Regions from separate parts of the Homo sapiens genome. Here region 2 is linked to region 1. The links are contacts of gene promoters, found by promoter capture Hi-C in human tissues and cell types (Jung and others, 2019). All regions are on one chromosome and are shown on one strand. The core of a region is centred on a gene start or on the middle of the fragment in contact, and the rest is flanking DNA. Distances in the headings are between cores, read along the strand shown. Region 1 holds the start of VPS29 (VPS29 retromer complex component). Region 2 overlaps PPTC7 (protein phosphatase targeting COQ7).

Evidence for each region. Contacts are between HindIII fragments. The study calls those that stand out against the background at their distance.
Region 2: a contact is called between a fragment that was not itself captured here and the fragment with the promoter of VPS29 in region 1, in 5 of the 25 tissues and cell types used here (H1 embryonic stem cells, bladder, hippocampus and 2 more).

Annotation. Positions count from the first base shown.
Region 1 is chr12:110,499,249-110,504,562 of GRCh38, forward strand. VPS29 (VPS29 retromer complex component) reads right to left here and starts at 2,863. Exons shown (of 4, transcript NM_016226.5): 1 at 2,801-2,863. The coding sequence starts at 2,803. RAD9B (RAD9 checkpoint clamp component B) reads left to right here and starts at 3,083. Exons shown (of 11, transcript NM_001286535.2): 1 at 3,083-3,135; 2 at 4,558-4,628. The coding sequence starts at 3,090. LOC124903015 (a long non-coding RNA gene) reads left to right here. Exons shown (of 2, transcript XR_007063458.1): 2 at 1-577. RefSeq lists a silencer at 1-170 and an enhancer at 2,692-2,831. The HindIII fragment of the contact is 3,487 bases long and covers 422-3,908 here.
Region 2 is chr12:110,538,116-110,543,429 of GRCh38, forward strand. It overlaps PPTC7 (protein phosphatase targeting COQ7), which reads right to left. Exons shown (of 6, transcript NM_139283.2): 4 at 1,707-1,830; 5 at 29-158. Among named protein-coding and RNA genes, the nearest start is that of RAD9B, 38 kb to the left of the region's middle. RefSeq lists enhancers at 2,338-2,838, 2,839-3,339. The HindIII fragment of the contact is 6,941 bases long and covers 1-5,314 here.

The DNA.
Region 1 (5,314 bases), core at 1,613-4,112:
AAGTTATGGGGAAATAGTGTTACATAACACGTGTCATACTTTGAAACATGTTCCCGCCCAAATTCCACACTTTGACAAATCGGGATAGACATAGATGATAGAGTCCTTTAAGAAAGCAAAAGATCCTGGAAATGGCAGTCTTATTAAATTAAAATAAAGAGCCAACCCAATCAAAGCATGGGAATTCGGTTACTTCCTTTCAACAGACCTTAAAAGGGTAAGAAATCCAGTCAGTAAACAGCCACCCAACCACCACTGTTAGTAGGAGCTAAGTGAAGAAACTTACTCTGTGCCCAGCCTTAGTGGAATGAAGAAGTTGATTGCAGACAGGGGGGATGAAAAAAAAAGGGTGAAACATGACCAATGTTAAAAGAAAGCAACAAAAAGAAACCAAAAAAAAAAAAGAGAACAAAAAACCCATACCAAATGAGCAAACAATTGTTAATGATTTCTGAGTGTTATGAAAGAAAATGTTAAAAATCAGCTGTGCTCAAAACAATACCAAAATAAATATTTGCTTTATTTTTGAACATGACACACACACTTTTTAATAAATTTGTCTTGTCAGTTTCTCCTACTTTTCCTAATCTTGTTCTGTACATCGACTTCCATCTCTGTTTTCCATTCTGTTTAGATTTTTATAAGATTTTATAAAATAATGAATTTGGATTTCTACAAGACACTGTGGAAAATTTATCATCAGTAATAGCTGAAAGGCTAACATTTTCTGGATTCTTAGGGTTTAATTATTCAAGTATATGGATGTTAATTATCTTACATTCAAAATTCTAGTAGCTGGAAAATTATGCTGCGGCTAGGTGATTTTTTGTAGCTGATGCAACACAGCACCATGAATACATTATCAAGTGTTGAACAAATCAACTAAAGGTGAAGACAAAATAATAAAAACAAACACATTTATTCAGGTAAAACTGGACCTTTCCCACACTTGAATTTGCTGCCCACAGACTCTGGACACTGTACTGAGTGTTGAACGTCTGTATCCTTTGCCAAATAAAATGCTTTTAATCATGAAAGAACTGGCTAATGCTAAATTTTTCCCAGTTCTATTTCATATGAAAAATGATGTTCCAGTACAACTACCCTAAATAAGAGGGATCACTTCTCAAACAACTTGAGAAACATTAATATTTTGAAACCATGGCAAGTAATTATGTCTTCTCCCATGGATAGGTGTCTCGAAATTACTGTAAACGGATTACTTTAAATTGGAGTCTGTTTAGAAGCAAAAATTAAAAGTGAGATTAAAGATTTTAAAGAAGCATGCACCATAAATCTCTGGCTGCCATGTCTGTAAGTCCCCCTCTTGAAAAGGCTGTTTGTCATGCAATAGTAATAATCTTAAAAATGCATAGCTTCTTTGGTTTCCTTGTAAAAATAAAAAAGAATGCAATAAATGCCTGTCAGAGGTAGACGTCCCTTTACAGCCAACCTCCATCAACACAAATATGAAGATAATCACAGCTCCATTTCAAACAATTGATTTTTTTTTTTTTTTTGAGCAGCAGCAAGATTTATTGTGAAGAGCGAAAGAACAAAGCTTACACAGGGTGGAAGGGGACCCGAGTGGGTTGCCCCAAACAATTGACTTTTTAAGAGTCAAAGGCACCTTTGAAAATATGATTACAGGCCGGGCGCGGTGGCTCACGCCTGTAACCCCAGCACTTTGGGAGGCCGAGGCGGGTGGATCATCTGAGGTCGGGAGGTAGAGACCAGCCTGACCAACATGGTGAAACCCCGTCTCTACTAAAAATACAAAAATTTAGACGGGCTTGGTGGCGGGCGCCTGTAATCCCAGCTACTCGGGAGGCTGAGGCAGGAGCTGAGGCTTGAACCCGGGCGGCATTGCAGTGAGCCGAGATCGCGGCATTGCACTCCAGCCTGGGCGACAGAGCGAGACTCCATCTCAAAAAGAAAGAAAGAAAATATGATTACAGCTCTGAGTCCTCTCTAGTAGAGGCCCCCAGTTTTTATGTAGGAAGGTCTGAGGGGCACCAAACTACTGGGGGTGAAGGGGTGATTGCTTGAAGGTGGCTGGGGGAGACTAGGTAAGTCTCCAACACCGGCACTCTCCCCAGAAAAATGTGTATATTCACAAAAATTTCCCAACAGTTTCAATGAGTTCACACATCATTAAGGAATCCTACCCTAAAGAGGCGTAGCAACCCGTGGAAAGAAACAGTTCCAGCAATTGCAAGCGCCAAATCCCGCCCTCTGAGAGCACACCTGCTCATCTCAATGGCAGCTAGATGTTATTTCAGGAGCGAGGAGGGTGGTTTATTCCCTTTCCCTAGATGGCAAAGTTAAACGGGTACGAAATTCTGCTCGCTACTTCCTGTTCTGCATTCGAGAGGCCAGCTTCCACCACTACACCCCAACCAGCGGGAGGTGCTTTTTGCGGGAAACGAGTAGGAACCGTCTGGAAACGGAGGACCGTGCCCCTATCCCCGGAACATTCGAGGTATAGGACCAAAGGCCTTCCCTGGCTCGGGCGTGCGTGTCTCGTGACAGGTCGGGCTGCTAGAGGGGCCTTTTTACCCCTTGGATGGCCTCTGGCCCCTTGGGGCCGGGATACGAGACCTAGGCCAGCCGCACCCAGAGGTGGCCGCTCCCTTCCTTCCCTAGACCTCTTCTGGGCCTTTCCCAGGCCAGCGCCTGGGCCCTGACGCCGAGGCCTCCGGGATTTCCCAATTCCTCGCCCTCGGCCTCCCCACGGCTCCCAACAACGCAGCACCCCACCCGAGAGCCAGGCCTTGGTCGCCGCAACTGCAGCCCTCACCATCCTGTCACCGGGCTCCGCTCAGTCACCACCACCGTCGCCGCCCTCTTCCTCAGGCTCCTCGGCGACCCGCCCACTTAACCGCAACCAATGAGAGCAGAGGGAGACAGAAATTGCCGTACGGAGGCCCGCACGGACCCTTCTCCGCCGTAAAGCCGTTTGGGAACTTGTGGAGGCGGGGTGGTAGAGTGCAGAGACGAGATCGCGAAGCTTTGAAAAGCGCGGGCAACATCCGGGCACCTGGGCCGTCGAGCTGAGGCGCGCCTTCCGAGCCTGCTTTTTAGGGCGGATGGCAGCCATGCTGAAGTGCGTGATGAGCGGCAGTCAGGTGAAAGGTGGAGCGGCCTTTGTTGTCTTCCCATTTAGCAGAGAGAAAAGCAGACGTTAATAGGTCGTCCCTACCATTGTCTAATTTTTCCTCTTTGCCTTTTTGCGCAATGACTGAGGACGCACGCCCTGGCCACAGCCCCACCCACTCAAGTCCCTGTTAACTTCTGAGGGGAGGATGAGGACCCATCTCGTGTGACTTAGAGGCAGATGTAATATGGGTGGTATCCGGGAAATAGAGTTGTACCATCGGGCCACAAACTCGGGATGCTGAGGACTGCATGGGGAAGAGTTGAGAGAAAAAAATAATGCTTGGACAGTAAAAGTATTTTTGTGCCAAGAGAACAGCATTAACCTGGTTTTTTTTTTCCCCAGATTCTACCATTTTTAAAAATGTATGAACTTGGAAAAGTCACTAAATCTCTTTGGGGCTCAGTTTCTAAAACGGAAACAGGGGTAATGACAGCACCTTCGTCACAGAGTTTGTTTGGAGGCAATGAAATGGAAATGCGTGTAAAGAGCCCAGTAATAGATGGAATGTACAAGAACTATTAGTGTTGTAAACGGCGCTTTCAAAATGGAAGTTAGGCCGGGTGCAGTGGCTCACGCCTGTAATCCTAGCACTTTGGGAGGCCAAGGCGGGTGGATCACCTTAGGTCGGGAGTTCGAGACCACCCTGACCAACATGATGAAACCCCGTCTCTACTAAACATACAAAAATTAGCCGGGCTTAGTGGTGGGCGCCTGTAATCCCAAGCTACTTGGAAGGCTGAGGCGAGAGGATCGATTGAGCCCGGGAGGTTGAGGCTGCAGTGAGTTGAGCTCGTGCCACTGCACTCCAGCCTGAGTGTCAGAGTGAGACTCTGTCTCAAAAAAAATAAAAAATAAAAAGAACATTAACAATGTCGTACGGGATCAGACTAGTGTGTTTTCCAGCCCTAAATGTGTTCTGTGGTGGGGAAATCTGGCTGCCCTCAAACATCAGAGATGTATGTTGGATACCCCTAATTTCTCTCTCATGACTTGTTGTGACTTGGCTATCAAGCTATTAAAACCACTTCAGATTATCTTCTCCATGCACTGTTTTCACAGTTTTTGGGGGGTCAAATACATTTATCTAAATCAAGTTGTAAAATACATTAGTATGGAAATTGGTTTGCACAGTAGCTCCATGCAACACTGTAAACATATAGAAGGACAAATTTCGGTCAATTTTATCATTTCACACACTACAAATTTATTGAGCCCTGACTATGTGTCTGGCATTTTGCCAAGGGTATTATACTGTATTAAAGTAATGTAGCATTAGTCTGTAAGATACTGTTATTTTTGAATTTCTCTTGAGTCCTCTGAATGCTGAACTAGTCTTGTGATTTGTTTTTATTGTTAGAGGGAAAGAATATAAGCATCACCTTTCTTTTTCTCCATAGTATTTGGGAAAGCAGTTCAAGCTCTATCACGAATTAGTGACGAGTTCTGGCTAGACCCATCTAAAAAAGGTGTAAGTAAGAAAGTTAACAGATCACGTATCAAGGCAAGAGGAGATGTTTAAAGATCCCAGTCCAGATTGAATGTTAACTAGGAAATCCAGAAATTGTAATTATCCCTTTCACTGTTTATCTTTATTTTACATATCTGAATACACTTAGAGCATGGTAAAGTTGAAAATATGCAGATAAGCTTGATTGATTTAAACTGGAAGTCACAAACTGGTAGTTAAGAGACTAGCTACGGTCTGCAGGAATGTTTGTTGGCCTGCACTGTTTTTTTTTTTTTTTAATTTGAAATAATTTCCAACATTTAAAAATTGAGGCCGGGCGCGATGGCTCACGCCTGTAATCCCAGCACTTTGGGAGGCCGAGGTGGGTGGATCACCTGAGGTCAGGAGTTCGAGACTAGCCTGGTCCACATGGTGAAACTCCTTCTCTACTAAAAATATAAAAATTAGCCTGGCATGGTGGTGGGCACCTGTAATCCCAGCTACTCGGGAGGCTGAGGTGGGAGAATTGCTTGAATCCAGCAGATGGAGGTTGCAGTGAGTGAGCCGACATGGTGCCACTGCACTCCAGCCTGGGCAACAGAGTGAGAGTGAGACTCCGTCCCAAAAAAAAAAAAAAAAAAAATTGAGTCAAATTTTTCCTGCTTCTCTTGAAAATTCAGAAGACCTGACAGTTTTGGGACTGCATT
Region 2 (5,314 bases), core at 2,051-4,550, 39 kb after region 1:
CCCTATGACCTTCCCAAAGAATGCTTACCTCTCACATTCAATCCATTGTCACATGCAAACTGTGCAAAAGGTGACATATAATTTGGGTCATAGGCCAGCTCATGAGCTTGCTCAGCAATGCTTCTGGCAGTCTGTTGTATACTCTCATAATTTGAATTCTAAGATAAAGCATGAGGAAGTTATTTTACCATAATGCTCAAGACAGTAACATTTATCTAACCACCTTTTCCATCATGTAAGTTTTATTCTAGTTAGAAAAGACATTAAAACATCATGCCCTGGCTAATATGAACAAGACTCCAGTGCTGCCTGCACAAGGTATCAATCAGAAAGTCCTTTGCTTTGGTGGCCTTAAGCCCTAAAGTTTGGATTTTCATTTTTGCTTTTTTTCCCATTTGAAATTCTTAAGGTATTCTTGCTAAAATAGGATGAACTGAAAAGGCAGATTCTGATAGCCTTTGAAGGATACCTCAAAAGCTTCCTTGCTTAGGAACACAGCCTGGCCAACCCCAGTTTGCTCTCCAAGAGCTACCAGTTGCTCTAGTGAAAATACCTTCAGAATTTTATATCAGGAAGAGATTCCTGTCGAGCTGTGAAATCTTGGGCCATACCTTTATCCTTGCTGCTCCAACTTCCTCATCTGCAAAACGGGGATGGGAACACGAGGTCCACTTCAGCTCTAGTTTCAGTATAATGACAGGTCTCTGCTTCAATGTCACCTCCTCAAAAAGGCCCTTCCTGACCAATCTATCTAAAGTAGTAGCAGTCCCTTCTACTCTCTATTCCCTTATCCAGCTTTGTTTTTCTTATTTAGCACCCACATTACATCATAGATTTACTTCCCTGTATTTATCTATTTTCCTCCACTAGGATGTAAGTTCCATACAGGTAGGGACTGTGTAGATTCTGCTCACCACTGTGTCACCACACAGAGCACGGTGCCTGTGACAAGGAAGCACCTCACACTGACTGCACTCCACAGACAAGGCGTGGCGCTAAGGAGTTCCTACACAGGGCTGTAGTTAATCCTCACTGCAACCCTATAAAAGAGGATCTTTAGGATGCCCCATTTTATATGAAGAAAATACTGCTTAAACAGTTTTAAGAAACCCTCAGATCTCAGCAACTTCAATAAATAATAAAAAAAAGAAAGAAACGTACCCAAAGTCATACTGGTTAGAGGTAAAGACTCATGAGAAAAAGACTCATTTTTCCCAGAGTATGTTCACAAAGCCAGGAAAAAATTGAAAGCCTAGTTTCACCTCCTTCCTCTATGGGAGAAACCCATACTATTTGGTTACTGGTGGCAGCTCAGGTCACACTGAGGCTTCCAGTGGCCTGCTGCCTTTGGCTGGCTCTGGCATGACTATTTCCTGTCTTTGCCTGATTCAACACCTGCTGGGTGTTAGAAGAATAAAAGGAGAAACAACCAGGACCCGACACCATTAAAATATAAATAAAGATACAAACAAGAAATGCCCTCCATCTAGACTTTTCCTACTTCTACCAGCCTATGAAAACCTTGGGTAGGAAGCTTCTTTTTCCAAGTGCTCTAATTATTTGAAAGACCAGAGCTATTATTATTTTCCTGAAATTCACAAAATAGTTCTTTCCAAAACTACAAAGAGATAATGCAACTGAATCCATAAAACTCAGCTATCCAGAGAGGGCCACTTTTCCCAAGAGCTAACCTTTGAGTTAATTACCTTTAACTTTTTTAGCTCCTGAAGAATCATATAATCAGGCATGTTGTCAAAGAGTCCATCTGTTGCCGTCAGGATAATGTCTCCTAGCTGGACATCGAAAGACGTGCTATCAGCAGCATCCGGACTGTGGCAAGGACAGGGGAGGGACAAAGTTAAGAAGGCCCTTTACAGATGAGTTGAAAATGTCCTACAGGCACTATTTTACAATGTAATAAGCTTTCTGCAAGAAAAACTGATTTATCATAATGGAGTCAATTTTTAAAAAAAGTCATTCTGAAATTCCCAACTCTGAAAAAAGTTAATCGAAAATTCTAATATAAATGTTTCAAATTTTTAACTGAAACTACCGAGTAAAACCAAGTCTGATGATTAGTCACAAGTGGCTGAGAAGGAGGGAGGAAGGGTCCTCTTCTGAGTCAGATCTAACACACCTCTAAAATCCTAGTGGAAATGAGTCTTTATTCCTAATTCTTTACAGCCGAATTCCATCCCCCCCCGCCTTTTTTTTTTTTTTTTTTGGAGACAAGTCTCGCTCTGTTGTCGAGGCTGGAATGCAGTGGCACGATATAGGCTCACTGCAACCTCTGCCTCTTGGGTTCAAGCGATTCTCCTGTCTCAGCCTCCCAAGTAGCTGGGACTACAGGCATGTAAAATAGTGCCTGTAGGACCACAGTCATGCACCACCACGCCTAATTTGTTTTTACATTTTTAGTAGAGACAGGGTTTTGCCACGTTGGCCAGGCTGGTCTTGAACTCCTGACCTCAGGTGATCCGCCTGCCCCGGCCTCCCAAAGTGCTGGGATTACAGGCATGAGCCACTGTAATCACCAGCCACCCAGCCCACCCCCTCTTATTCACATATTTCACTCATCAGTTTCCTCGAATATTTGAATCTGGGTCCTGGAGTGCCATAGTGAGGGTGGGATGATGAATACCTGTGGAGAACAACATGCCAATCTTTTTTTTTTTTTTGAGACAGAGTCTCGCTCTGTCGCCCAGGCTGGAGTTCAGTGGCGCGATCTCGGCTCACTGCGAGCTCCGCTTCCTGGGTTCACGCCATTCTCCTGGCGCAGCCTCCCGAGTAGCTGGGACTACAGGTGCCCGCAACCATGCCCGGCTAATTTTTTGTATTTTTAGTAGAGACAGGGTTTCACCATGTTGGCCAGGATGGTCTTGATCTCCTGACCTCGTGATCTGCCCGCCTTGGCCTCTCAAAGTGCTGGGATAACAGGCGTGAGCCACTGCGCCCAGCCGCCAATCTTATAAGAATTCATTCACTGCTGGGTGTGGTGGCTCACGCCTGTAATCCCAGCACTTTGGGAGGCCAAGGTGGGTGGATCACCTGAGGTCAGGAGTGCAAGACCAGCCTGACCAACACGGTGAAACCCCGTCTCTACTAAAAATTAAAAAATTAGCCAGGCGTGGTGGCACACGCTTGTGATCCCAGCTATTCAGGAGGCTGAGGCAGGAGAATTGCTTGAACCCGGGAGATGGAGGTTGCAGTGAGCCAGTGAGCCAAGATCGTGCCACTGCCCTCCAGCCTGGCAACAGAGTGAGACTCCATCTCAAAGAAAAAGAAAAAGGAAAAAAATAATTCATTCACTTGCCAGTCGCAGTGGCTCACGCTTGTAATCCCTGCACTTTGGGAGGCCAAGGCGGGCGGATCACCTGAGGTCAGGAGTTTGAGACCAGCCTGGTTAAAACCCGTTTCTACCAAAAATACAAAAAATTAGCTGGGCGTGGTGGCACACGCCTGTAATCCCAGCTACTAGGGAGGCTGAGGCAGGAGAATCACTTGAACCTGGGAGGCAGAGGTTGCAGTGAGCTGAGATTGCACCATTGCACTCCAGCTAGGGCAACGAGAGCTAAACTCCGTCTCAAAAAAAAAAAAAAAAAAAAAGAATACATTCACCGGAAATAGCTACAGTATTTTGGCATAGTAAGGACTCTGTGTCTCCCAAGGGTCCCAAAGTGGTCATCATACGTAGGTATTTATTAGTGTGCCTCATGTAACACGTCTTCAAGAAATATCTTGATATCTTGACCAGGCGTGGTGGCTCACCCCTGTAATCCCAGCACTTTGGGAAGCCGAGGCAAGCAGATTATTTGAGGTCAGGAGTTCAAGACCAGCCTGGCCATCATGGTGAAACCCCATCTCTGCTAAAAATACAAACGTTAGCCAAGCATGGTGGCGTGCGCCTATAATCCCAGCTACTTGGGAGGCCGACACAGGAGAATCACTTGCTTCAACCCCAAAGCTGAAGGTTGCAGTGAGCTGAGATGGCGCCACTGCACTCTAGCCTGGGCAACAGAGCAAGACTCCATCTCAAGAAAAAAAAAAAATAGAAGAAATATCTGTTGCATAACTGAATGAAGCAGCAAAATATTTGACTCTCCAAATTGGGGGAAAAAACTCTTCAATATACTGTTGAAGAAAGCAAGGTGAAGACGGTGTGTCGTATGTGCAACCATTTCCGTAAAAAAAAAAAGGCAGAAAGACACACAGACATGGATGCTTCTATATGCAGGGAATAGATCTGGAGAGAATCAAAGAAACTGCTCATAGCGGGCTGTGGGTGGTGGCTCACACCTGTAATCCCAGCACTTTGGGAGGCCAAGGTGGGCAGATCACTTGAGGTCAGGAGTTCAAGACCAGCCTGCCCAACATGGTGAAACCCTGTCTCTACTAAAAAATACAAAAAGTTAGATCATGGTGGTGCACACCTGTAATTCCAGCTACTCGGGAGGCTGAAGCAGGAGAATTGCTAGAGCCAGGGAGGCAGCAGTAGCAGTGAGCCGAGATTGCGCCACTGCACTCCAGCAGCCTGGGCAGCAGAGCGAGACTCTGTCTCAAAAAAAAAAAAAAAAAAAAAAAAAAGAAAAAGAAACTAAAGAAACTGCTCATAAAGAAACCTTTGAGGACAGAATATGTGGCTAAGGGCAGGAACAGGAGGCAGATGTCTCACTAAACTTTTTTGTGTACAACTCTTGAAAAAAAAAACAGATGGAAGATCTTTTTCTCTGACAATGCCTGATGAAAACAGACATAAAAATGGGGGAAAACCCCGGGTGGGGAGAAAAGATCCTATATTCAGAGATCATGGCCTCCTGAGGCTGGTTCTTGGCGACTTCTTAAGGCCAGTTTCCCTCCTTCCAGGCCTCCCTGGGGAGGGAAAGGTGAGATCTGATAATCCGCCTTAATCTGTAATTAAGGAACAAGAGCCAGGAAAGCAAATCAGATACCGACCCGGAAGGGAGGCACCAGATCCAAAGCACCCTAAGCTCCACGGAAAAACCCCAACACTTGTGTAAGCAACATGTGACAACATTTGTGAAGAGAAAGCATAAAAACTAACAAACAAAAGCACACATGCCTATGAGGATTCACACTAAATGCACTCAGAAAATTTCTGGTTCATCTTCACTTGACTGAGGAAAAAGGTGGCACATGTAAAGTTCTGCCATGTGCTGCTGCAGGGAACCGACTTTCACTTACATATTTAGATAATCAACATTTTGTAAAAATGTCTACTAAAGGAAAACCTGTAAGTTAAGGTTAAAATAATATTCTGTAGATAAGAGGGACCATTAACTAAGGAGATACATGC